Regions from separate parts of the Homo sapiens genome. Here regions 2, 3, 4 and 5 are each linked to region 1. Evidence: promoter capture Hi-C in 16 types of primary human blood cells and fetal thymus (Javierre and others, 2016). All regions are on one chromosome and are shown on one strand. The core of a region is centred on a gene start or on the middle of the fragment in contact, and the rest is flanking DNA. Distances in the headings are between cores, read along the strand shown.

Region 1 (5,113 bases), core at 306-2,805:
TAATATTAAGATAGTTTTTTAAGAAAAGGTAAAATCATGACTCATTCAAATATAAAACCAAACCCGTGTTCAAGATTTTATTTAACTCAAAATGGAACCAGGCAGAGAAGATAAAGAAAATCCCAGAATTAGACACCTTAGAGCAGGAATATTGAAATAAATGTGCAAAAGGAGGCAAAACTTCCACTGAATCTCTGAGAGAATTCGCATGTCTTGACAATAATTATTTAGCATTGATGTCACTTACCTAGTTTACGTAACTGAAAAATAGCTTTTTTAGAATTAGTTATTCCAAGGGGTGTTAAGATAGAATCTAAACTATGTAGTTTTCCATTGAAGCACACACTTCTCCCCATAATAATATAATGCACAGCACCTGTCAGGGATATTAACCATACATACCCACTCAAATGCTCCCTTTCCCACCAAGCTTATTAAAATAATAGTTTGTGGCCACAATTTCTTCCCTTCTCATTTATCCAATACACAGCAATCTTGTTTCAAAACTCCTATGCTGCTACAGCTGTCCACAGTCTCATCATACGCATTCTTTGCTATTGCAATTTTCTTGAATATGGAAGATTAGCTGAACATGCATTAAGCTCAGGAAACTCTAAAGAAAATCAGATAATGTAGACAAAAGTCTAATTTCTAGGCTGGCTGCAGATACCTTGTTCAAGAAGCGCCGGCAGGATCTTCTTTTGTACAGCTATGTTAGCTTTAATTTTGCACAGCTCTAGACATCAGAACTCATTTCTAAACACTTCTATGCAGCTCAAGAATAAAAGTAGCAGAAATGCAAGAGAGAAAAGCTAATTCCCACTTGGTGAAAGAGCACTTAAGTCTCAGTGAGCAAACAAGGAGGAGTCAGCCTTGGTCACTTCCCCCTCAAGCGGCCAGAGAGCGGAAACACAAAGCCAGGCCAGTGTCACTCCAGGGATTGCGGGAACCTAGACAACGCACCATCCTGGGCTCAGCGTCTACCCACCCCTCACCCGAGGTGCTCTCGGTTCCGTAGAATGTCCAGTCCACAGGAACGGCAACACGGACTTGTCTTTGGGACTACAACCAGCAAGAGCTCCCGCCTGCCCCATTTCACCTGCACCCTAGGGCGCCCGCCTCCTTGGCTACAGCACCACTGTTCCTAGTGCCCGCCGACTGCCCACCCTTTCACTTCTCGTAGAGACGGCGTCCCCGACAACGCCTCGGGAAAGAACCTAACCAACATGCGAGGAAGTGGCGCCAGGCTCGTTCTTCAAGAGAAGTGACAGAACTAACCCTCAGCCTGCAATCCTGACCAGGGCCGAGTCCCGAGCGCCTCGGACCGCGCCCCCGGCCCTCTCCGCCCCGCCTTCCCTCCCGGCCTCAGTCCCTCCTCTCACAGCACTCTGGTGGTCCCATCCGGGCGGCGGGCGGCACGGATCAGGCTCCTGGTAGAAGGCGGCCGAGCGACATCTCCGGCGACCCTCAGCAGGAGCGCGCCGAGTACGGCGAGTCAAAGTCCCAGGAGACTGGAGTGACCAGCTGCAAATGCTCTGGGCTGCGAAACACCGGCTTCCGCTCCTGGCCAGAGCTCACCAATCAGCGCCCGGCTTTCTCCGTCATTTCCTCCTAGAAGGCAAAGGGAACCTCTGGCGGAAGAGGCTTCCGGAACGGACCCGGAAGGGGCAGGTCTTGTGGGCGGGTCCAATCGGCTGGGAGCCTCGTGGAGGCTGAGGTGAGTCCTGGAGGTGCGTGGTTGGGGCGGAGAGCATTATCTGCGGCTCCGATTTTGCAGATTCTGGCTGAGGCGTTCGTGATGTCAGCAGCAGCCGAGACGGGCGTGTTAAAGGCCGGTTGCTAGGGCTGGGGGAACTCAGGTAACTACGGGCGTCCCCACAGCAGTACTTGGAAGCCCCTCAGCTACTCGGCGCGGTTGCGGGTGCTGAGCAGAGCTGCCTGACCGTGCGTGTGCACGGGCTGGCCTGAGGATGATATGACCGTGTGTTCGGTGTGTGGAACCCTCCGTCACCCTCCCCTGACCGAAGACTCGTTTAGGAATGTGTGGCAGGTCTGTTGCCACGGTCCAGGCCTTCAGTGCATCTTGGAAACATCGTTTTGGGGGCTGTAGGTTAGGAAGCGGAGATCATGGGGTCTCGGAAGAAGGTTTGGTCGTGAACTGTCAGAAAGGAGGCGAAAGCTGTGCACGTGGAACAAAGTGAACAGTGCAAGTTGTATGGGAGGTAGTTTAAATATCGAGGCGATGAAAAAAGGCTGCTAGAATTGGGCTTACTCGAAAGGAAGTGGGCCTCAGAAGATAATATTAGTTAAAAGAAGTAGAGGAGAACATGGATGTTATTCTAAGTAAAACGAATAATATGAAGAATACAAGGTCGCGGGACGAGGAAGGAAACTAGCCAGCCTGACAGGAAGGTTTATTCGAGAAATACGGGGGTTAGATAGGATGAGTTTTTGGAAACTGGCAAACGATTTAGCCTTTTCAAGGCTTTAGGATAGGGAAAGCTCATTTGAAAAGATTAGTCGGTAGTATTATGACGTTTAAATGAAAAGAGTGAAAAACATGGAGGCGGAGGTGCTAGGTGGAAAATCAGTGCAGTAATCCAGTGATAAAGAGCTGGAACTGAAAGTGCTGGAGAGAAAGGGATCCTGTTTCAGAGTAACAGTCAGGTGGAATTGACTAAAGAGAAAGAGGCAAAGAGAAGCAGTTTAGCATAGTGGTTAAAAGCAGAAATTTTGGAGTTAGACTGGCTGGATTGGGATCTGGCTTTGGCAATTAGCTGCTAAATGACTTTGAGTTAGCAATTTGCCATCTCTGGGTCTGAGTTCCTTGTCTGTAAAATAGAGATAGGAAGAGTGACTTCCCTTGTGGTGTTATTGTGGAGAATTTGTTTATTTATTTTTAGAGACAGAGTCTCACTGTCACCCAGGCTGGAGTGCAGTGGCGTGATCATAGCTCACTGCAACCTCGAACTTCTGGACTCAAGTGATCTTTCTGCCTCAGCCTCCCCGAGTGCGTCACCATGCCTGGTTAATTTTTTAAAAAATGTTTTGTAGAGATAGGTTCTTGCTGTGTTGCCTATGTTGGTCTGAAACTCTTGACTCCTAGGCCTTGGCCTCCCAAAGTGCTGGCATTACAGGCATGAGCCACCATACCAGGTCCTTATGGATAATTTTTTTATGCTCATATTTACAATGTGCTAGAGGCTTTTCTAAGTGCTTTGCATATGTTAGCTCGGTTTCATTAATTGCTGTATGTAATTAAACAATTGCATAATGTTATCAGTTACTATAGCGTAAGCACTCTCTAAATCTTGGCTGCTATAATAATATTTTTTTATTAATAATTCAAAGGTTATTAAATGGTTTTGAGCCTGAAGAGCTGGGAAAATTGTGTCTTAGTGTCAGAAGAAAAGAGAGGGGTACCAGAAGTAAGGTAGGCTTGGTTATAGACATGTTAAATGTGAAACTATAAGGTATTCAAGTGGAGATGTTCAGTAAATATTGGAAACTCTATAATTAGTATTCATGTAGGTGGAAAGGACTGGAAATAGACAGATGGGAGTCCCTGGACCTAGGCATGCTATATGAATTCTCCAAGGAAAACACTGTAGAAGGAGGTGGTAGATGGCCAAAGACAGACAAACATAAGGAACAACTACAGAGTCTGGAGGAATAAGAGGAATTGGGAAAGAATTAATCAAATGGCCTAGGCTAAGAGCATTATCACCATGTTAATATTATCTTTCCTTGATTTTAAATTGGCTTTATGTTGGTTCCTGTGAGAGAAGCAATGAGGCCAGTAAGTGATTATTACCAGAAAATATTATCAGAGAGTTGAGATTGAATTTTTTTTGTGTTAGACTAAAACAGCATTTGATAATTAGAAAGACCCTGTAGAGTTAAGCCAACCAACCAAAGAAACAAAAAACAATAGCAAAAAGAAACAGCTCCTCATAAAAGACTGTAACTTCTTTATTTTTGTGTGTTTTAAGTTGCATGGGTGTTTTTTGGGGATACTTTTTACTCTTCCATGTAAAGAACAGATGGGACTGATTTGTTATCTCCTTCATTCACCTCTTGTCCCTTTTATAAATAACCAGTGGATTATGGATTTTCAGTGAATTTAATAAAAGTGCAGAAATTATGGCATCTTTCCAAAAATAGTGTGCCAAGTTGCTCAACCATTTTCTATGCCAAGGGTAAGTGGCTGCTCTGATTTTGAAATGAAGGACAGACTTTCATGTACTAGTAGTTCTCAAAGTGTGGTCCAAGAACTGCAATAGCAGCATCACTTGGAAACTTGTTAGAAATGAAAAATTCTAGGCCCTACCTCAGACTTATGAAATCAGAAACAGGTGCTGGGAGAAGAGATGAGATGGTGTTTTCTAGCAATGTTTTCATAAGCCCTCCAGGTGATTTGGATGTATACTAGAGTTAGAGAACCACTGTACAAGAAGGTAAGTACCATGAGGTTAGGGATTTTGCCTTGTTAATAGTGTATTTCCAGTGTCTAGAATGGTGCCTGTCTAATTGGTAGGTTTTCAATAGATATTCATTGAAAAATATGTTCAGTCTCAGACTGCCAATCTCTGTGTAAAAGCTTTGATGCTGGTTTAATGGGCAGAAGTAAATCAGTTTAGCTGCATTGAGCCTATAATGTCAGATATGCATGAGGTGGGCATGACAACGTGACTAATTTGGAACTTGAGGAATGAGGGATTATATTGAGTCAACACTGAATAAAAAATGATGTCCAGGTATTTTAGGTCAATGATTCATTTAGAGTAAATAAAGATTAAGAAGTCACAAGTTACATGCTTTTAATGACATGATCAACAGTTGGTGTTGTTCTGGCGCAGTGGCTAACACCTGTAATCCCAGCACTTTGGGAGGCCGTGGCGGATGGATCACTTGAGGTGAGGCTTTCGAGACGAGCCTGGCCAATATGGTGAAACCCCATCTCTACTAAAAAAAAAAAAAAAAAAAAAATTAGCCGGGTATGGTGGCACATGCCTGTAGTCCCAGCTACTCGGGAGGCTGAGGCAGGAGAATCGCTTGAACCTAGGAGGTGGAGTCAGCTGTGAGCCAGGATCCCACCACTGCACTCCAGCCT
Region 2 (5,015 bases), core at 2,017-4,516, 3.2 Mb before region 1:
TAGAGTCTGGAACAGTTTTGAGGGCTCAGAAGAAGAAAATGTGGGAAGGTTTGGAAATTCCTAGAGAATTGGGGACTCAGAAGACAGGAAGATGTGGGAAAGTTTGGAACTAAAATGCCGATAATAATATGGACAATGAAGTCCAGGCTGAAGTGGTCTCAGATGGAGATGAGGAACTTGTTGGGAACTGGAATAAAGGTGATTCTTGCTATGCTTTAGCAAAGAGATTGGCAGCATATTGCCCCTATCCTAGAGATCTGTGGAACTTTGAACTTAAGAGAGAGAATTTAGGGTATCTAATGGAAGAGGTTTCTAAGTGGCAAAGCATTGAAGAGGTGGCTTGGGTGCTCTTAAAAGCATTCAGTTTTATGCATTCACAAATATATGGTTTGGAATTGGAACTTGTATTTAAAAGGGAAGCAGAGCATAAAAGTTTAGAAAATTTGCAGCCTGATGATGCAGTAGAAAAGAAAAACCCATTTTCTGGGGAGAAATTCAAGCTGGCTGTAGAAACTTGCGTAAGTAATGAGGAGACAAATGCTAATCATCCAGACAATGGGGAAAATGTCTCCAGGGCATGTCAGAGACCTTCATGGCAGCCCCTTCCATCACAGGCCTGGAGGCCAAGGAAGGAAAAATAGTTTCCTGAGCCAGGCCCAAGACCCCCTGCTCTGTGCAGCCTTGGGATATGTGCAGCCTTGGGACACGGTGTCCTAAGTCCCAGCTACTTCAACTCCAGCTGTGGCTAAAAGGGGCCAAGGTACAGCTCAGGCCATTATTTCAGAGGGTGCAAGCCCCAAGCCTTGGCAGCTGACACATGGTGTTGGGCCTGTGAGTGTGCAGAAGTCAAGGATTGAGGTTTGGGGACCTCCGCCTTGATTTCAGAGGATGTACGGAAATGCCTTGATGTCCAGGCATTAGTTGGCTGTAGAGGTGGAGCCCTCATGGGGAACCTCTGCTAGGGGAGTGAAGAAGGGAAATGTGGGGTTGGAGCCCCCACACAGAGTCCCCACTGGACACTGCCTAATGGAGCTGTGAGAAGAGGGCCATCATCCTCCAAACCCCAGAATGGTAGATCCACTGACAGCTTGCACCGTATGCCTGGATAAGCTGCAGACACCTAACGCCAGCTGTGAAAGCAGCTGGGAGGGGGGCTGTACCCTGCAAAGCCACAGGGGTGGAGCTGCCCAAGGTTGTGGGAGCCCACCTCTTGCATCAATGTGACCTAGATATGAGACATCAAGTCAGACGAAGGAAATCATTTTGGAACTTTAAGGTTTGATGATTGGTGTAATGGATTTTAGGCTTGCATGGGGACTATTGCCCCTTCGTTTTGGCCAATTTCTCCCATTTGGAAAGGGTATATTTACCCAGTGCCTGTACCGCCATTGTATCTAGGAAGTAACTAACTTGCTTTTGATTTTATAGGCTCATAAGGGAAGGGTCTTGCCTTGTCTCAGATGAGACTTTGGACTTGGACTTTTGGGTTAATGCTGGAATGAGCTAAGACTTTGGAGGACTGTTGGAAAGGCAAGATCATGTTTTGAAATATGAGGATATGAGATTCGGGAGGGGTCATAGGCGGAGTGATGTGGTTTGGCTGTGTCCTCACCCAAATCTCATTTGGAATTGTAGTTCCCATAATGTCCACATGTCGTGGGAGGAACCTGATGGGAGGTAATTGAATCATGGGGGCTGTTACCCCTGTGCCACTGTTCTCATGATAGTGAGTGAGTTCTCACAATATCTAATGGTTTTATTTGTATTTATTTATTTATTTATTTTTGAGACGGAGTTCTGCTCTTGTTGCCCAGGCTGGAGTGCAATGGCACGATCTCAGCTCACTGCAACTTCGGCCTCCTGGGTTCAAGCAATTCTCCTGCCTCAGCCTCCCAAATAGCTGGGATTACAGGTGTGTACCACCACGCCCAGCTAATTTTGAGTTTTTTTTTTTTTTTTTTTTTTTTTTTTTTTTTTTTTTTACTAGAGATGGGCTTTCACCATGTTGATCAGGCTGGTTTTGAACTCCTGCCCTCAAGTGATCCACCCACCTCGTCCTCCCAAAGTGCTGAGATTACAGGCATGAGCCACCACTCCCAGCCTATCTGATGGTTTTATAAGGGGCTTTTCCCCCTTTTGTCAGCACTCATTCTCCTTGCTACCATGTGAAGGACGTGTTTGTTTCCCCTTCTGCAATGATTGTAAGTTTCCTGAGGCCTCCCCAGCCTTTCAGAACTGAAAGTCAATTAAACTTCTTTTCTTTATAAATTACCCAGTCTCGGGTATGTCCTTATAGCAGCACGAGAACTGACTAATACAATTATGAAATAAAACTTTCACTACTTAGAATTTTTATATTTATTGAAAGGGCTATTTTAAACTTTTTTTTTTTTTGGAGACAGGGTCTCAGTCTGTTGTCCAGGGTGGATTGCAGTGGCATGATCTCAGCTCACTGCAGCCTCCATCTCCCAGGCTCAAGCAATCCTCCTGCCTCAGCCACCTGAGTAGCTGGGACTATAGGCATGCACCACCACGCCTGGCTAATTTTTGTATTTTTTTGTAGAAATGGGGTTTTGCGATGCCCAGGCTGGTCTTGAACTCTTGGGCTCAAGCAGTCCTCCTGCCTCAGCCTTCCAAAGTACTGGGATTACAGGAATGAGCCACCTGTGCCCTGCCTAGACATAGATTTAAATCATGTCTCCCTTTTGTGTGTATATGAAGTAAAAAAAAAAAAAAATGGCAAAATAAATTTGTTAAGGTATTCCTAAAACTTCTTCACAAAGTCTAACTCTTCTGAATCTCTTTCTTTTCAGTAATAAATTTGACCATATTTTAAAAATTCCATTCATCATGAGGCAACATAAAAAAGTTTAAAAAATCAACAGACTAGTATATTTGCATTATATAAAAAATGTATTGGTATCATGAATATATAATACATTAATAAGAAAAAGCCAAAAGGAAAGAAAAGGAAAATGGAGAAAATACTTGAAGGTCCATATTTTTTTTAAAACCTGTATAGGCAAATACTTGAAATTATACCCAGCCTCATTAGAAATCAGGGGGATGAACTTTTTTTTTTTAGATTTTTACACTTACAGAAGAGGTAGAAAAATAGTACAGAAAGTTTCCATAAACTCTGTACTTGCTTCTCCTATTTTAACCTTACATAACTATAGAACAATTTTCAAAACTAGGAAATCAACTTTGACATGATAATATGACTTGAAATACAAAATTAATTTGGGCTGCACCAGTTATTCCAACAATGTCCATTTTCTCCTCCAGGATCAAATCTAGGATCCCACACTGCATTTAGTTTTTATGTCTCCTTTGTCTCCCTTCTATGACAGTTCTTTAGTCTTTGTCTTTTACAACTTTAACACTGAAACAGGCTGGGTGTGACGGATCATGGCTGTAATCCCAGCACTTTGGGAGGCCGAGGCGGGCGGATCACTTGATGTCAGGAGTTTGAGACCAGCCTGGCCAACATGGTGAAACCCCGTCTCTAGTAAAAATACAAAAATTAGCTGGGCGTGGTGGCAGGCCCCTGCAATCTCAGCTACTCTGGAGGCTGAGGCTCTAGAATTGCTTGAACTCAGGAGGTAGAGGTTGCATTGAGCGGAGTGAACTCAGGAGGTAGAGGTTGCAGTGAGCCTGGGCAACAGAGTGAGACACTGACTCTCTCTCTCTCTCTATATATATACTTTAAAACAGTATCAGTCAGCTATTTTGCAGATTTCCCTCAATTTGGTTTTGTCTGATGTTTTCTCTTGATTAGATTGAGGTTATACATTATTTGGAACACTACAGAGGTTATGTGCCTATCATTGCTCAATATCAGGGGTATATAATGTTGAAGTGTATTATTACAATTATTATTATTGAGATGAGGTCACGCTTGTCGCTCAGGTTGGAGTACAGTGGCATGATCTCGACTCACTGCAGCATCCACCTCCTGGGTTCAAGCAATCTTCCCACCTCAGCTTCCCAAGTAGCTGGGATTATAGGCGCCCACCACCACGCCCGGCTAATTTTTCCATTTTTAGTAGAGACGGGGTTTCACCATGTTGACCAGGCTGGTCTTGAACTCCTGACCTCAGGTGATCCACCCACCTCGGCCTCCCGAAGTGCTGGGATTACAGGTGTGAGCCACCTTGTCCAGCCATTGAAGTGTATTATTAATGATGTTTACCTTAATCAGTTGATGTCTGCCAGGATTCTCCATTGTAAAATTACTACTTTTCCCTTTGTAATTAGTGAGTATTTGGGGGCAGGGCAATGCTTTGGTAATGTACTGAATTGAATAGTGTCCCCCCTAAATTCATTCCCACCCAGAACCTTAGAATATGACCTTATTTAGAAATAGGGCCTTTGTGGAGGTAATCAAGTTAAGATAAAGTCATACTGGATTAGAGTGGGCCTGAATCCAATGAGTAGCGTCCTTAGAAGAGAGAATTTTATACACTGACTAGAGACATGCAGGGAGAATGCCATATGAAGACAAGAGATTGAAGTGATACATCTAGAAATCAGGGAACAGGAATTGCCAGCAACCCCAGAAGCTAGGAGAGGGGCATGGAACACATTCTCCCTGAGACTTCTAGTCTCCAGGACTACGAAAGAATAAATTTGTTTTAAGCCACCCAGTTTGAGTTCATTTGTAATGGCAACTCTAGGAACTAACGCAAACGTATATAAATATCCTGTTTTTGCTTAAATTTTAGCCCACTATTCATTGGTGCATCTTGCTGAATCTTTCTGGTTCATAGATATCCAGGTTTTCCCACATAGAATTATTTTGAGCCCACCAAGAACACTGATAATGTAGCATTTCCTCAAAGAGTGCTTCATGGTTTCCAGGATTTTATTCTGAGCTGCTAAAAGCCACTGGAGTAGGTAGAATTCCAAGCTGGCCACCAAGATTCCCACTGGTGTCGTACGTGTCTTGTATCATCCCATCTTAAGCATAGGTGAAACGTGGATACGAGAAGCTGTATCACTTATATCTCTTT
Region 3 (4,550 bases), core at 1,591-4,090, 3.2 Mb before region 1:
TGGTAGTCAAGGAACTAATTTTTAAATTTTATTTAATCTTAATTAACTGTAAATAACCACATACTGCACAGTACTGTTTTAGTCTCTACCCCTGGATTACCCACAAAGTCATGTATCTGAACTACATTCCACTGGCTATTTGCAAAACTGTGCTTGATGGTAATAGCCTACATTAAGGGATAAGACAGCCTAAAGTACCTGGACCATGTCACTGTCAGGTTACTACTGATTTTTACATTAAACAAGCCTCTTTGAGGATCCATGGGAAAATTTCCTTCTAGTCCGAGCAACTTAACGGCTTTCAGCATACAGATACTGAATCTTTCAGCTGGCTACTTTCCTTTTCACAACAGTGACCAAATTTGTAGTCCACCTTTAGAAAGCCACTGGAACTTCATGCACAATCACAGAATATGCTCACTCCTAAATTTGTTTATTTTACCCTTATTTTTTTGGTCTCACTTAAGCCTATTTTTCATTAATCTTATCTTGCTCTACTATATGCATTTTCATAAGATGTTTTAAATACTCTTTGGTTTGAGCTAAGGCATATAGAAAAATGAATAAATTTCTTGTAAGAAAGAAGAAAAATGACTTCTAGAAATTCAAAAAACATTTATTAGATGCATGCCAAGTGTGGGCATTTTATTAAGTACTGCTATTACTTTTAGACAAAAAAAAAATGGGAAGTACAACAGGTTAGGAAAAGAACACTTGAATTCAGTGTTGGACCAATCTGCTTTTGAGAGCAGACATCTTCACATGGATAGAAAATAAGCCAAGACTCAAGCCTTTAGGCAGAACACTTAAGTAGCATTTACTGTGTGCCAGGCACTATTCTGAGTGATTTGCGTATTTATTAAAACTGTAATCTTCACAACTCTATGAGGTAGGTATTATTATTTCCATATTATAGGTTAGGAAAGCCACATAGCCCCTGAGTCACGTCGCTAATAAACAGAGCTAGGTTTCAATCCAGGCAGAGTTCTCATTCTTAACCATTATATTATTCTGTTTAAGAACACTGTGCTAAGAAAAAGGAGCTTTGGGTTTTTGGTCCTGGCTCTGCTACTAATAACAATCCTGACTCCAAAACCTAACAAACGACATTCTGAACTCTGTTTCTGATTCTGCAAAATAAGAATATTGTACTAGAATTTTTATGGTCCAATCTAGCTTTGAAACTTTATGGTTCTATGGACAAAGTCTATCTTTATGTTCCCTTGCTTTGTTTTCATCTTTATGGACTTCCTATTTGCTTACTCCTATCATTTTATTTTTTATTTTTTTTGGAGACAGAATCTTGCTCTGTTGATTAGGCTGGAGTGCAGCAGTGCAGTGGAGTGAGCATGCCTCGACCTCCTGAGCTCACGTGATCCTCCCACCTCTGCCTCCCGAGTAGCTGCCACCATGTGTGACTAATTTTTTTATTTTTATTTTTGTAGAGACAGGGTCTTGCTCTGTTGCCCAGGCTGGTCTCCAACTCCTGGGCTGAAAGTGATCCTCCCGCCTTGGCCTCCCAAAGCACTGACATTCCAGGTGTGAGCCACTGTGCCTGGCCTATCTTTTCCATTACATACTGAAAGATGTTTCTTGGAGATGTTTTCCTCTCTGAAATTCCTTCGTGATCTCTAATTACAACAACTCTGGTTCCAAGTCATTCCCAGTAGCAAGCTTCACTTATGTATTATCAAACTTTATAGTAACAGTATATTATGTAAAATAAATTCCAGTATTAACTTTCAGTAATTACCCTAGATTCTCAATGTCAAACAACCTAAAACCAACTCTTCCCATAATTAAAAAGCTCTATCTTCCCTAGTGTGGTAACCTCATTTCCCCATAAAGATTCAGAACACAAAGATCATCCTTTCAGAGAAAATAATGCTCCTAGTACCTGTAGAGGTTAATATCCGCAAATGACTTGCTATTATTGATGGCAAATACACAGAGGAAGCCTTCGCCTGTCCTCATGTATTGGTCTCTCATGGCACTGTACTCTTCTTGTCCAGCTGTATCCAGTATGTCCAACAAACAGGTTTCACCATCTATAACCACTTGTTTTCTGTAAGAATCCTGGGGGTGTGGAGGGTAAGGGGGCAGGGAGGGAGGGAAGTTCAATTTTTATTAAAAACCACAGGGAATGCAATGCTATTGCCAAGGTTAAATAAGCATCTAACTATTCAAGCCCATTTCTGCCTATCTGGTTTGTCCCTCAAATTGCTAATATATAATCACAAACAAAAAGTATCCAATATCACCCTACATAAAAGAAAACCCACCAAATTCTATATGCCTGCAGAAAAGAAATATGGTCACTGTGTTCCTGGAAAAGATTAAGAAAACACAGTAACTCAAATGACAACTCTACTGCAGCCAGGAGGCTACAGATTAAGTACCCAGTGTATTTCACTAAGCTATGAACTGGACTGTTTTATTTGTGCTGTTTATTTTACTTAAAGAAATCTAAACATACCTCCACCAATTATAACCTGGCCCTATATACATCATTTGTGTTTATGACTAAATATACAAATACCTTTGTTTCAGAGAAGGTTTTTTTTTTATCATGACAGATGTACCTTTGGGAAATATTCCTGAATCAAATTCTTAAAGGTTCCAAACAAGGTATAGTTATGTTTAATTTCTCAGGAAGACAAACATGCATAGATCATATAAAAAATACTTTCATTTTGGTTTTATGGCAACAGGACTTTTACTTGTATTTTAATGTCATCACACTTGGAGAACTCTCTGGAGTACTGGAAGTGCTCTATACTGTTATCTGGGTGGTAGCTACATGACTATATAGAAACGCAAAAAGCACTGGGCTGTAGACATAAAATTTATGTATTTTACTTATGTAAATTGCTCAATAAATCAAACATTTAAAAATATTTAATTAAAATATTAAACATTTCATGTAAAATATTAAAGCTGTTAAGCTCAAAATAAAGATTTTGCCAAGGGTTAGCAACCAATTTTTTATAGTGGCTACATTAGAGTTAGTTTTCATCAATTAAACACGAGTAGCCAGATGGTAGGGAGGCCAGGTGTTGATTAAAATAATCTCTAAAGTTAGGCATTTCTAAACTGAACAAAATTACAAAACCCTTTATTTATTTATCTATTTATTTATTTTTTGAGACGAAGTCTCGCTCTGTTGCCCAGGCTGGAGGTCTGTGGTGTGATCTCGGCTCACTGCACCCTCTGCCTCTGGTTCAAGCGATTCTCCTGCCTCAGCCTCCTGAGTAGCTGGGATTACAGGTGCCTGCCACCACACCCAGCTAATTTTTGTATTTTTAGTAGAGACGGGGTTTCACCATGTTGATCAGGCTGGTCTTGAACTCCTGACCTTGTGATCCGCCTGCCTCAGCCTCCCAAAGTGCTGGGATTACAGGCGTGAGCCACCGTGTCCGGCAAAACCCTTTATTTAAAGAGCCTTAGGTGCCACTTACTGAAGACAATCTGTACCATGAACTCTCATAATAACAATAGAATCCCTAAGTACTATTACATAGTGCTTTACCATTCATAAATAACTTAAATATATTATTTAACTTTCCATAACATCCCTGTGTGGTAGGCAGGACAAGTTTATGGTAATTTAAAACATGAGGAAAATGAGGTTGGGAGAGATTCAGTTGCTCAATATCACACAACTAAATAAACTGCAAACAGGGACCAAAATCCTAGGCATAAAGACTAAAAATCTCAAGTTCTTGCTACTCCAATCATCTGGTCTCAGCTGCTTCAACTAGCTAATAAATAAATATTGAAGAACACTCATCTCTGAATCCTTTATCTCCATCCTATTATCTCCCATACAATCAGACAGTCTCGCTACTATGGCCTGTGTTTCTCATGTAATAGAGCTGTTATATATGAAGAAACTCATGAATGAACTCAACACTGAGTTTGCAATAGTTTACAGAACTGTTAAAAACTGGACAGGTTTTAGAAACTTCAGCAGCTAATAAAAATGAACTGTTCTCTATAAACACGTTAAGCTTATTGCATAACTGAATGTATACCCAAAATAACTTTTTACTTTCTCTCCTCTTATTCCTTTAATACAGAATATGGGTAAAGATGATCCGACAAGTGAGAGACAGGATCAGGTCAGCGGGCTACCACTGGGCCTCACCTCTATGGTGGGATCATATTCATCTACAAAGTGGTTCTGGATTAGCTGGATTGTCAGTGCGCTTTTCCCAACACCACCTGCTCCAACCACCACCAGTTTGTACTCAGTCATTTCACACCAGCAAGAACCTGTTGGAAACCAGTAATCAGGGTTAATTGGCGAGCCACATCTACAGTACTTTAAAGCTTTCTATAATCAATGGAAATGAAAACCCTAGTGTGACCTTCCATTTGGTTCTTAAAGTGACTAGAGAACGCAAAAACACCGGATTAATATCGGCCTCACACTTCTGGAGTAGTTTTCTAGCAACCCCCATCCTTAGCTATTTTTCAACAGTCCTTGGGCCCCGCCCTCAGCCTAAGCAATGGAAATCCCCCTTCCTATTACTCCCCGAAGGCTTCTC
Region 4 (4,508 bases), core at 137-2,636, 3.2 Mb before region 1:
AAGACGTCATTGTAACTTATGTAATGCTATGTGGTCATTGGAAACAATATGTGGAAAATGCTTATTCTGTAATAGGAAATGAGACATAAGATATTTATACAGTATGATTTCAAATGTATTTAAAGACCAGAAAATCTAATGTTCACAGATGAGAAAACACTTAGCCATCTTAAGGGCACAGCGCTAAAAATGGCAAATGTGGGAACAGAATCCAGTTCTGACTCCATTCTTAACCACTGCCTTATTCATTCAACCACAATTAAGTTCATACAATGCATCAGCATTATTTTAGGTTCTACTCATATAGTAGGTAACACAACAGACAAATATCTCCAGCCTCATAAAGTTTAGACCTTCTACCCTTTTCTACATATTTACTTTTAAACTGAAAAAGTCATTGACAAAATTAGTCCTCCTTTAATAAAAGCAGAAATGGAACAAATCTCAGGTCAAATTTAAACTTCATTTGTAACTCAAGAAATTGATTAAAGTTCCCTGAAGAACATAAAAGTCAAAAGACTGGCTTTCAGTCCTGACTCTCAAGTACTTTTAACATCTCTGGGATTTTTTCCTCAAAAGTAAAGTGGGAGCACCTAACTGGTTTCCAAGTTCCTTTGGGGAGAGGGGGTGGAAATCTATGCTTTGTAATTTATTACAACATCTAAGTTGTTTTTCCCCCCTAATCTGGTCTGCTTGGCTTCTACTGATTGACAATCAATTTGGAAAAGGTAGCCTATTTCACCATAAGATCTTTAGAAAACTACTCTGTATTCTCAGACATACCTCCCCTTGACTTCCACTGTTTCTTCCAATTTTCTGAACACAACCATTTTTAACACTAATTGCTGTCTTCTGGATAGGTTCTAAGTAATTATTCATTAAAGTGCATTTCACTACTATTCTTAATGTACCCGACCAATATAAAGTACTGAGTGATTACACTCCTTGATTCTGTAGACTGAAGTTTTATAACTTTGTAAAACTAAAACACATCCCCATCATTTCTTCACAAATCACATTAGCGAAATCAGGTTTTCTTTCAGTTCCTCCGTAATGGATCGTTTGTTCCCAAATAAAAAAACTATAACCTAATGCTTTTAAAATGCCTTCTGTTGGTTAATCTAGTATTCCAATTTGGTGACTAATTTTAAATTATCAGACTCTTTGTAGTTTATCTTTTAATCATTCATTCTCCTACCTTAACACCTGTCTCACAGAGTTGTTGAGATGGTTAAATGAGTTGCTGCACGTAAAAAGCCTAAAATAAGTGCTTACGTAGCACATAGGTACTCACAGAACTACTCATTAGGTCTCTGAAAAAAGCAGGGCGAGGATAGCATCTGGCAGCATACACCTGGAGACTTCTCTAAAATCAGTCTCTTACTAACTGCTATCCATCCAACATTTCTCCATATTGACCATTATGCTATCATGAGCTAGTCTGCCAAGTTATTTATTCACTGGCTCTGGGGTTTTTGCTAGGGATGAAAAGTAAGCTCAATAGTTCCCACATCTGACTGAAAAATCAGGACATTTACAGTTCCTGTCATAGGTCTCTATTTGACTACTATCACACACCTAGCAACTAGCACCCTAGCAACCGCCAAGTAATCCTGTTATTTTCTCACTCATCTGGGGCCTCAGTTTTCTCTTGCTTTGCTATGTTTCAAGTATGAAAATTATTGCATTCAGCAGAAAAAACTAGGAGCGCGACAGGAATTTTCTAGTTTTGCTTTTCTCTTGTCTGTCACCTTTAGACTAACCTGGATCAAATCATTCACCAAACAATTCAGGTCTATTTTCACATCTCAAACAAATGCTTTATAAGCCTTATTCTTTCTTGCCATTTTATGGCTAATTCTACCCTTCTATATATATTTGTTCCTAATTACGTACTATTTTTACTGATTTTACAAAACCCCCCTTTAAAATCTGGGGGTTCCATTGCATTACCAAATCTGTTTTCTTAGCTGTGTGCCCCCTTTAACTGAACTATTTCACAACTGTACAACCACAGCCATGTTTTACTGCCAATAATCTTCATCCCAATTGTGGTTTCTTTGTACATATGTAAACATGTAATTTTTAGACAGCTATGGATGCATTTATATATTAAAATGTTCATGTAGTAAACTAATATTCAGAATACAAAGATTACACTAAACAAAAAGGACTTCGTTAAATCTATTTCTATAAATCATGTCAATGAAATGAAAGCCTTAATATCTAATCTTGCCAGGCACGGTGGCTCATGCCTGTAATCCCAGCACTTTGGGAGGCCGAGGCGGGTGGATCACAAGGTCAGGAATTCAAAACCAGACTGGCCAACACGGTGAAACCCCGTCTCTACTAAAAATACAAAAATAAGCCAGGCATGGTGATGCGCGCCTGTAATTTCAGCTACTCAGGAGACTGAGGCAGAAGAATCACCTGAACCTGGGAGGCAGAGGCTGCAGTGAGCCAAGATCACCCCACTGCACTCCAGCCTTGGCGACAGAGCAAGACTCTGTCTCAGAGAGGAAAAAAAAAAAAATCTAATCTTTTATGCTTCAGAACATAAAATTGTGGTTTCAATTTGTGTTAATCTTCCCTATCTAATCCAACAGAATCCACAACAATTAGTCTAAAATTATTTTTTAAAAATCAGCTAAGGTAAGAAGAAACAAATAGAAAAACTAAATGCTACAATTACCTTAAAATTAAATAACAGTGTCTGTTTATGAGACATAGATAATTTTACTATAGTTTTTAGTTGTTAAGGAATAATTCTAGTGCACAGCAAGGTCACTGACACTATTACATAATCCTTCAATAAATTGGAAATAAAGTCCTAAGCGCTTCTTGAAATAGCAGTGAAGCTTTTGTAACTGAATGACTTATTTTCATTCTTCATTTTATTTGACCTCTGTAGCATCTAAAAAAATGTTTACCATTGACTTCCTGAAATTATCGTTGGTGCTTTTTCCTGACTTCTATGTCTTTGCTCTCTTCATTGGTGCTTCTTCCTTTTATTACCTATACACTGATGACTCCTTTCTGAATTCCTTTATGTCTAACTTTAGAAAATCTGGAAACTAAAGATTAAAAAGGAAAATTGCTCTTCATAAGCCTACCCTCAAAGTTAACCACTGTTCAATATTCCATACTAGTGTATTTCCTTCAACTTCAGATTGCTATCTAATGAACACAATAGATTTCCATAACATATTTTAATATCAGTAAGTTACTACTCTAACTTCCCTATTCCTATGAACAATGAAGGTTTCTAGTTTGCACAACTGGATTTGATAAAGCCATTCTCTCCACATTTATCTTCAGATTCAATTGGTCCCCAAGTCCTCACTTCTAAATCATCAGAACACCTAGCACCTACCTTTTTCTCTACCTACACCTTAGCTTTTATCTTCCTTATACTTGATCCACTGCTTTTGACAGGTCTTCCCATCCTCAGCCTTTCCCTCAAAAGTGTCACCATTTGTCTTTTAAAGGTACACTTCTGAATATTACTTTAAAATGTGAAGCAATAAAGCTATCTTACTTTTGGGGGAAAAACCCTTAAGCCCTTGCTTATAGACATCTGATGGCTCTCCTACGGAATAAAGACAAATGCATTGGGCCAAGCCTCCAGCAAACTTCCCTTTCATAACTCTCCCGCAAAATTATATTCTCTACTCTGTTCATAATGAACAACTTAATATATACCATGTGCTTTCACGTAGCCCTGAATCTGCTAATTCTGTTACCTCTATACCTCTACCAATGTCTCTTCTACCTCTTAACAAGGTACTACTCACCTTCAAATATCCCTTTTCTGTAGGCTTTCTTTACCCTCCTCCTTACCTCCAAGGGAACAGCTTCAGTTATATTCTTAATATTTTATTAGTATCTTTTAGCCTATATTGTGATATTGTGTAACAAATTGTTCTAAATCATTAAGTCCATTAGTATCTTATTCATTCGTTATATTTCAGCACTAGCAATGCCTAACAATACAGTAGGCATGTCAACCATTTACAAATGTGCACTGTATACCGTTCACAAATATGCACTGCAAATGTAGGCATGGATATAAAGTAAGGTTCTTTCCTCAAGAAGCTAACATTGAAGACAGTAGAGAGAAAGAAACAGACGTCAGTAGCAAATATCACCAAAGTTTCACAGACCCTCATAGAAAGACTGCAATGCACATTCTTATTTGAAATCCTAACTTCTAAATAGTACAGACGGAGCTTCTCTAAGAGACCAGCAAGTCGAGAGATCAGCATGTATTAATATAATCTGGTATGAAAAATGTTTGACCATAAATACTGTCCTTATCTAACAAGAGATAGTGTTGATATTTCATACTAGTTGAGAATAGAAAAACTGTCTTCTGAATACCTTTAGAAAAGAACAAATAAAGATTTTATATTTGACCAAATAATCAGGAAATCTAGAATTATGGAACTGATTCTTAATAGGAAATTACAAACCTACCTCGCAGTGATACTCAAATATTGCACTTTCAG
Region 5 (4,754 bases), core at 53-2,552, 3.3 Mb before region 1:
CTTGAATCCAATAATTTAGAAATGATATCTTACATTTCATTTAGCTAACTAGACCCTAACTAGAATCCTGGGTGTACTTCAAGGTTATACATTTAAAATAGTATCATACTCAATGTGTGGAGTAGAACAGCATCTGACTCCTTAGGCAATCATGGACACTCCCTTCTCTAATCCTCTTGTCCTTATACATACCCTCCGCTATAGGTCCTTTACATATTATTACACATTTATACATACTATTGTAAACTTTTTGTTTTATATATCTAGCTCCTCACTGTATTGTATTTTTCTGTATTCAGAAACCCTATCTTTTTTGGAGAGGATGTTTGTCTTAAATAAAGAAAAGAAAAATTAAAAGAAAACAAAATATATTAAAAAAGAAACCCCATATATCTCTATGATCTCAGAATCTAGAATGGCACCTAGCACTTGTAAAGTATTCATATCAGTGAAAATTATTGCCTACATTAATCAGAAATGTGTTAATAAAAACATCGGATAGATTACAGAAAAAAGGAGAAGGCTGAGAAAAAAGTAGTATACACTTGGATATGGTTTGTCCTTTCAGTCGTATCACATACATTTGGTAAATAACTAGACTTTAATATGCCACTCTCCAGTGGTTCTAAAGAGCTTAGGTAATTAGGCTTATACATATTAAAAAACCCTAGATCACTTGCTGTAGAGTGAATCTTGGCAGGAGAGGGTCCCTTTGAGAATTTACGCATGGATCCTATCTCAAAGAATGGTAGCCACAAATTTTTGCATTAAGTGAGTTGTGGAGCCCCAGAAAGTCTTCCTATGGATCTTAGAATAAGAACCTCGGAGAAGACTTATCTATCTAGTTGTTTTCAATAGACTGACACCTATACAGTAGGTAAGTAGTAGCTATGCAGGCAATGGTTAAAACTGGAATTTAAAGCTCTCAATCCAAAATAAAGGTTCACAGGAATTCTCGTTCACACCTAGGCTCAAGACATACTTACTTCAAAGGCAGAATAATCCGGGGCTGTCAGGTAGCTCAGGTAGTTCTTAGTAGGTCGGTATCTGCGAGTTTCCTCCTCCACCAGCGCTGCAGCCTAAGAAAGAGAATAGGGACCAGGGTAGAAGTGGCAAATTGTAACATGTTTCTTTCAGTACCGAGCCAGCTAGCAGTGAGTCAGCTACAAAGACACCCCGCACTCACCGCTTCCCGCACACCAGGGGCTTCATAACCTTGATCAAAATACGGCAGCGCATCCACCACAACCTCTCCAGCCACCAAACCTGTGCCCGCCATTCTGAGGACCTCAGGTTTGCCTGCGTTTTCTGCGTCTGCGTAAACTCAGTTATATTTAATTACGCCGGCGCCTGACACTGATGTAATCACGTTCCCTCCGTATTGACGTTAGTGCATGCTCAGTTGCTAATTTTGAAGGCGGGTCCGCCCGGTATCTAGAAATTGCCGGGCTGGTTTGTTTTGGGCGGACGTGACGTAACGTCTTGGCTTGTCTGCGTCAGCGAAAGGCCTCAATTTCCTGTCCTCTGCTTACTGCCCCTTTTTTTGCCTGCGAATGGCGGCGATTTGAAGTTGGGGCTTTTCGTTTCCTCCAAAACATTGATATCTGGAAAGGGAGCCCCTTAACACTTTTGGAGGGAACTGGCTGCAGCATTTGGCGGGGAGAGATAAACTGGTTTCCCACCTCTGCTTACTCCCACCTTCTCCCCTTAATCTTCTCTTCCTCTGTGCGAGACTTTTTTCCTTTTTTATTGTAGACACAGGGTCTTTGTTCTGCTGCCCAGGTTGGAGTGCAGTGGCGTGATCATAGCTCACTGCAGCCTCAACCCCCCGGGCCCAAGCGATCCTTCCACCTCAGCCTCCCGAGTAGCTGGGCCTAGAGGTGCACACCACCATGCCTGGCTAATTTTTAATTTTTTTTGTAGAGATGGAGCCTTTCTATGTTGCCAAGCCTAGCCTCGAACTCCTGGCCTCCCAAAATGTGGGGAATACAGGCGTGAGCCACTGCACCCCGGGTCATTCCTCTTTTACTTCCTTGCTGTACCCCAACTATCCTTCCCCCTCGGTGCCCTTAAAACCTTTGCATTGGGTAAGTACATTTTTTAAAGAGACTCTAGAATTGGGCGCCAGTCTCCAATTAAAATTGTGAAGCTTTATGGTCTGCGTATCAAAAGGAACCTCAGTTCCTTAAAAATCCTGTCATTTTGCCTTTAGGACTTAACGGTAATAGAATGGCATTCCTCACTGCCTCCGAACCACTCAAGCTGCTGCCCATGCACTCTCTTCTGCATGGCTCCTGGACTAAGCAGCCTCCCTTTGATTAAGCAGGTAAAAACCAAATAAAGTTGTCAGACTATATGCCCTGCCCAGTGTGCAGTCTAGACCCAGCCTTTGTCTGCCAAGAGCCTGGAAATGTTGACCTCCGTTATTAAGCCTGGTCAGTCTAAGACTAATTCTTATTACCGAAGTACCATTAGGTAAATGTGCTAGCTATAGATTTAAGTGACATAAAAGATCTTAAAGAATTCTCCAAGGGATCTGTGGGGGGTTTATGTATTTATTCATTAAAAGATCTGTAAACAACATTTTATACAAATCTTGATTCTTTTACAAAAATATCCAGAATTCCTAACACTTTACAGAAAACACAACAGACCTAAGGAAATGAAGCAGCTTCAGGCTGCGAGGATGAAGACACCATTGCTGAAGCAAAGGTCTCCTCCTAGAGGGATAGCCAGGATCCATCACAGTAAACCCTTTTACCCCCATTTTATAAACATCCAATTATTAACTGTTCCTGCTGGGTTGGAGTGTAAGAAGAGACCAAATGGAGAGATGTCTAGTAGAAGCCCCACTGGGGGTAACCTGCTTAACATTAAAAAAAAGACAGGCTCAGTTCTATTCCCTGGACCCACATCTGTAGGAATTATATTATACAGCACCAGTCTTAAATGGTGTTCTGCTTCAGATTCATGCATACCTGAATGGGTTGTAATGACAATACTGTACAAGTCAATAAACTGTATCACAATACAACTTACACAGTTTTGTAAGGTTGAATAAATACTTTCTGTGCCAGTTAAAACCATCAGCAGAAACTGAAGAAAACAAACTGACATTTGCTATAACATTAATCAATGAAAAGTGCACCATCTGAACTTGAATTTGCCCATGAGTTTGAAAACACACACACACACACACACACACACACACAGGCCGGGTGCAGTGACTCATGCCTGTAATCCCAGCACTTTGGGAGGCCAAGGTGGGTGGATCACCTGAGGTCAGGAGTTCGAGACCAGCCTGGCCAACATGGTGAAACCCCCGTCTCCACTAAAAGTACAAAATTAGCCAGGTGTGGTGGCGGGTGCCTATAATTCCAGCTACTCAGGAGGCTGAGGCAGGAGAATTGCTTGAAGCCGGGAGGCGGAGGTTGCAGTGAGCCGAGATCACACCATTGCACTCCAGCCTGGGCAAAAAGAGCGAAACTCCATCTCAAAAAAAAAAAAAAAAAACCGAAACAAAACACACACACACACACATACACACACAAAAAAAACACTGCACCATCACTGAAAACTTTCTCTTTCCAATCACTACTACTACTACTTTAGATATTAAAGGTCTGGATGACTAAGTGGTATATGTTCAAGGAATGTTCATATTTTGAGTCTAATTTAATTAGAGCAAAAATTTCAACATTTCTAGGGGAATAAAAAGAGTCTCATCTAGGCACCTATAAAGTTCCTTATCCTCAGAGCTGAAAAGTGGCTCTGGTACACTTAATAGAAAATTTTTATTAATAAAAGAAATAGCTATATAATCCTACTGAGATGAAATTTCCATCTGTAGGACTAACCAACTTTTTCTGTGTCCATAAAAGTCTTGGCTTCAGTTCTGTGTTGTACAACTTTGGGCAACGTATTTAACTTCTTTGAATTTGTTTTTTTCTTTTTTCTTTTCCTTTTTTCTTTTTTTTGAGATGGAGTCTCGCTCTGTCACCCTGGCTGGAATGCAGTGGCGCGATCTCGGCTCACTGCAACCTCTGCCTCCTGGGCTCAAGCGATTCTCATGGCTCAGCCTCCCGAGCAGCCAGGATTACAGGCACCTGCCACCACACCCAGCTAATTTTTTGTGTGTATTTTTAGTAGAGACAGAGTTTCACCATGTTGCCAGGCTGGTCTCGAACTCCTGACCTCAAATGATCCACTCGCCTTGGACTCCCATAGTGCTGGGATTACAGACGTGAGCCATAGCACCCAGCCTCAGTTTATTAGTAAAATGGAGATGCAAATATCTATCTCATAAGGTTGATTTAAGGATTGGTTGAGATGATATGCATACATATACCACAGTGCATGGCACATGGTGGACACTAAAAAATAAAGGTGGCTCCCATGCCCTTGAAAGGACATTTTCATATTAGCTATAATTTCACAAAGTTTAAATTTATTTACTTATTTTTAAAATGTTTTTGTAGAGATGGGATCTTGCTATGTTGCCCAGGCTAGTCTCAAACTCCCACCCTCAAACTCCTGCCTTAGCCTCCCAAAGTGGTGGAGATTACAGGTGTGAGCCACTGCATCCAGCCTCCACAAAGTTTAATGTTGACATGTGAGGCACAAGCAAACTACTCAAATGCCACATAATTTGGAGGAGGAGTTGCAAGATGTCTAATTTTATAAGGTACTTAATAACAGTACCTTATAATATTACAAGTAGGGCTTCCTCCTAAGTGAGATTCCCCTAGATATAA

What was found. Contacts are between HindIII fragments. The CHiCAGO score rates a contact against its expected background, and 5 or more counts as called.
Region 2: a fragment that was not itself captured here is called in contact with the fragment with the promoter of GDAP2 in region 1 in 1 of 17 cell types (neutrophils); the score reaches 5.4 in neutrophils.
Region 3: a contact is called between a fragment that was not itself captured here and the fragment with the promoter of GDAP2 in region 1, in 2 of 17 cell types (monocytes and fetal thymus). The highest score is 9.0, in monocytes.
Region 4: a fragment that was not itself captured here is called in contact with the fragment with the promoter of GDAP2 in region 1 in 1 of 17 cell types (monocytes); the score reaches 9.1 in monocytes.
Region 5: the fragment with the promoter of BCAS2 here is called in contact with the fragment with the promoter of GDAP2 in region 1 in 1 of 17 cell types (non-activated CD4 T cells); the score reaches 5.0 in non-activated CD4 T cells.

Annotation. Positions count from the first base shown.
Region 1 is chr1:117,928,066-117,933,178 of GRCh38, forward strand. It overlaps GDAP2 (ganglioside induced differentiation associated protein 2), which reads right to left and starts at 1,556. Exons shown (of 14, transcript NM_017686.4): 1 at 1,383-1,556. It overlaps WDR3 (WD repeat domain 3), which reads left to right and starts at 1,674. Exons shown (of 27, transcript NM_006784.3): 1 at 1,674-1,717. RefSeq lists enhancers at 1,481-1,775, 1,657-1,826. The HindIII fragment of the contact is 4,170 bases long and covers 429-4,598 here.
Region 2 is chr1:114,763,274-114,768,288 of GRCh38, forward strand. No RefSeq gene overlaps it. Among named protein-coding and RNA genes, the nearest start is that of CSDE1, 7.8 kb to the left of the region's middle. The HindIII fragment of the contact is 8,893 bases long and covers 1-5,015 here.
Region 3 is chr1:114,711,903-114,716,452 of GRCh38, forward strand. NRAS (NRAS proto-oncogene, GTPase) reads right to left here. Exons shown (of 7, transcript NM_002524.5): 2 at 4,148-4,275; 3 at 1,898-2,076. The coding sequence starts at 4,258. Among named protein-coding and RNA genes, the nearest start is that of NRAS, 2.6 kb to the right of the region's middle. The HindIII fragment of the contact is 2,336 bases long and covers 1,673-4,008 here.
Region 4 is chr1:114,745,345-114,749,852 of GRCh38, forward strand. It overlaps CSDE1 (cold shock domain containing E1), which reads right to left. Exons shown (of 20, transcript NM_001007553.3): 2 at 4,477-4,508. Among named protein-coding and RNA genes, the nearest start is that of CSDE1, 10 kb to the right of the region's middle. The HindIII fragment of the contact is 2,940 bases long and covers 1-2,856 here.
Region 5 is chr1:114,580,313-114,585,066 of GRCh38, forward strand. It overlaps BCAS2 (BCAS2 pre-mRNA processing factor), which reads right to left and starts at 1,303. Exons shown (of 7, transcript NM_005872.3): 1 at 1,187-1,303; 2 at 987-1,079. The coding sequence starts at 1,279. It overlaps DENND2C (DENN domain containing 2C), which reads right to left. Exons shown (of 21, transcript NM_001256404.2): 21 at 2,538-4,754. LOC105378914 (a long non-coding RNA gene) reads left to right here and starts at 1,531. Exons shown (of 3, transcript XR_947719.4): 1 at 1,531-2,087; 2 at 2,213-2,326. The HindIII fragment of the contact is 8,807 bases long and covers 1-2,147 here.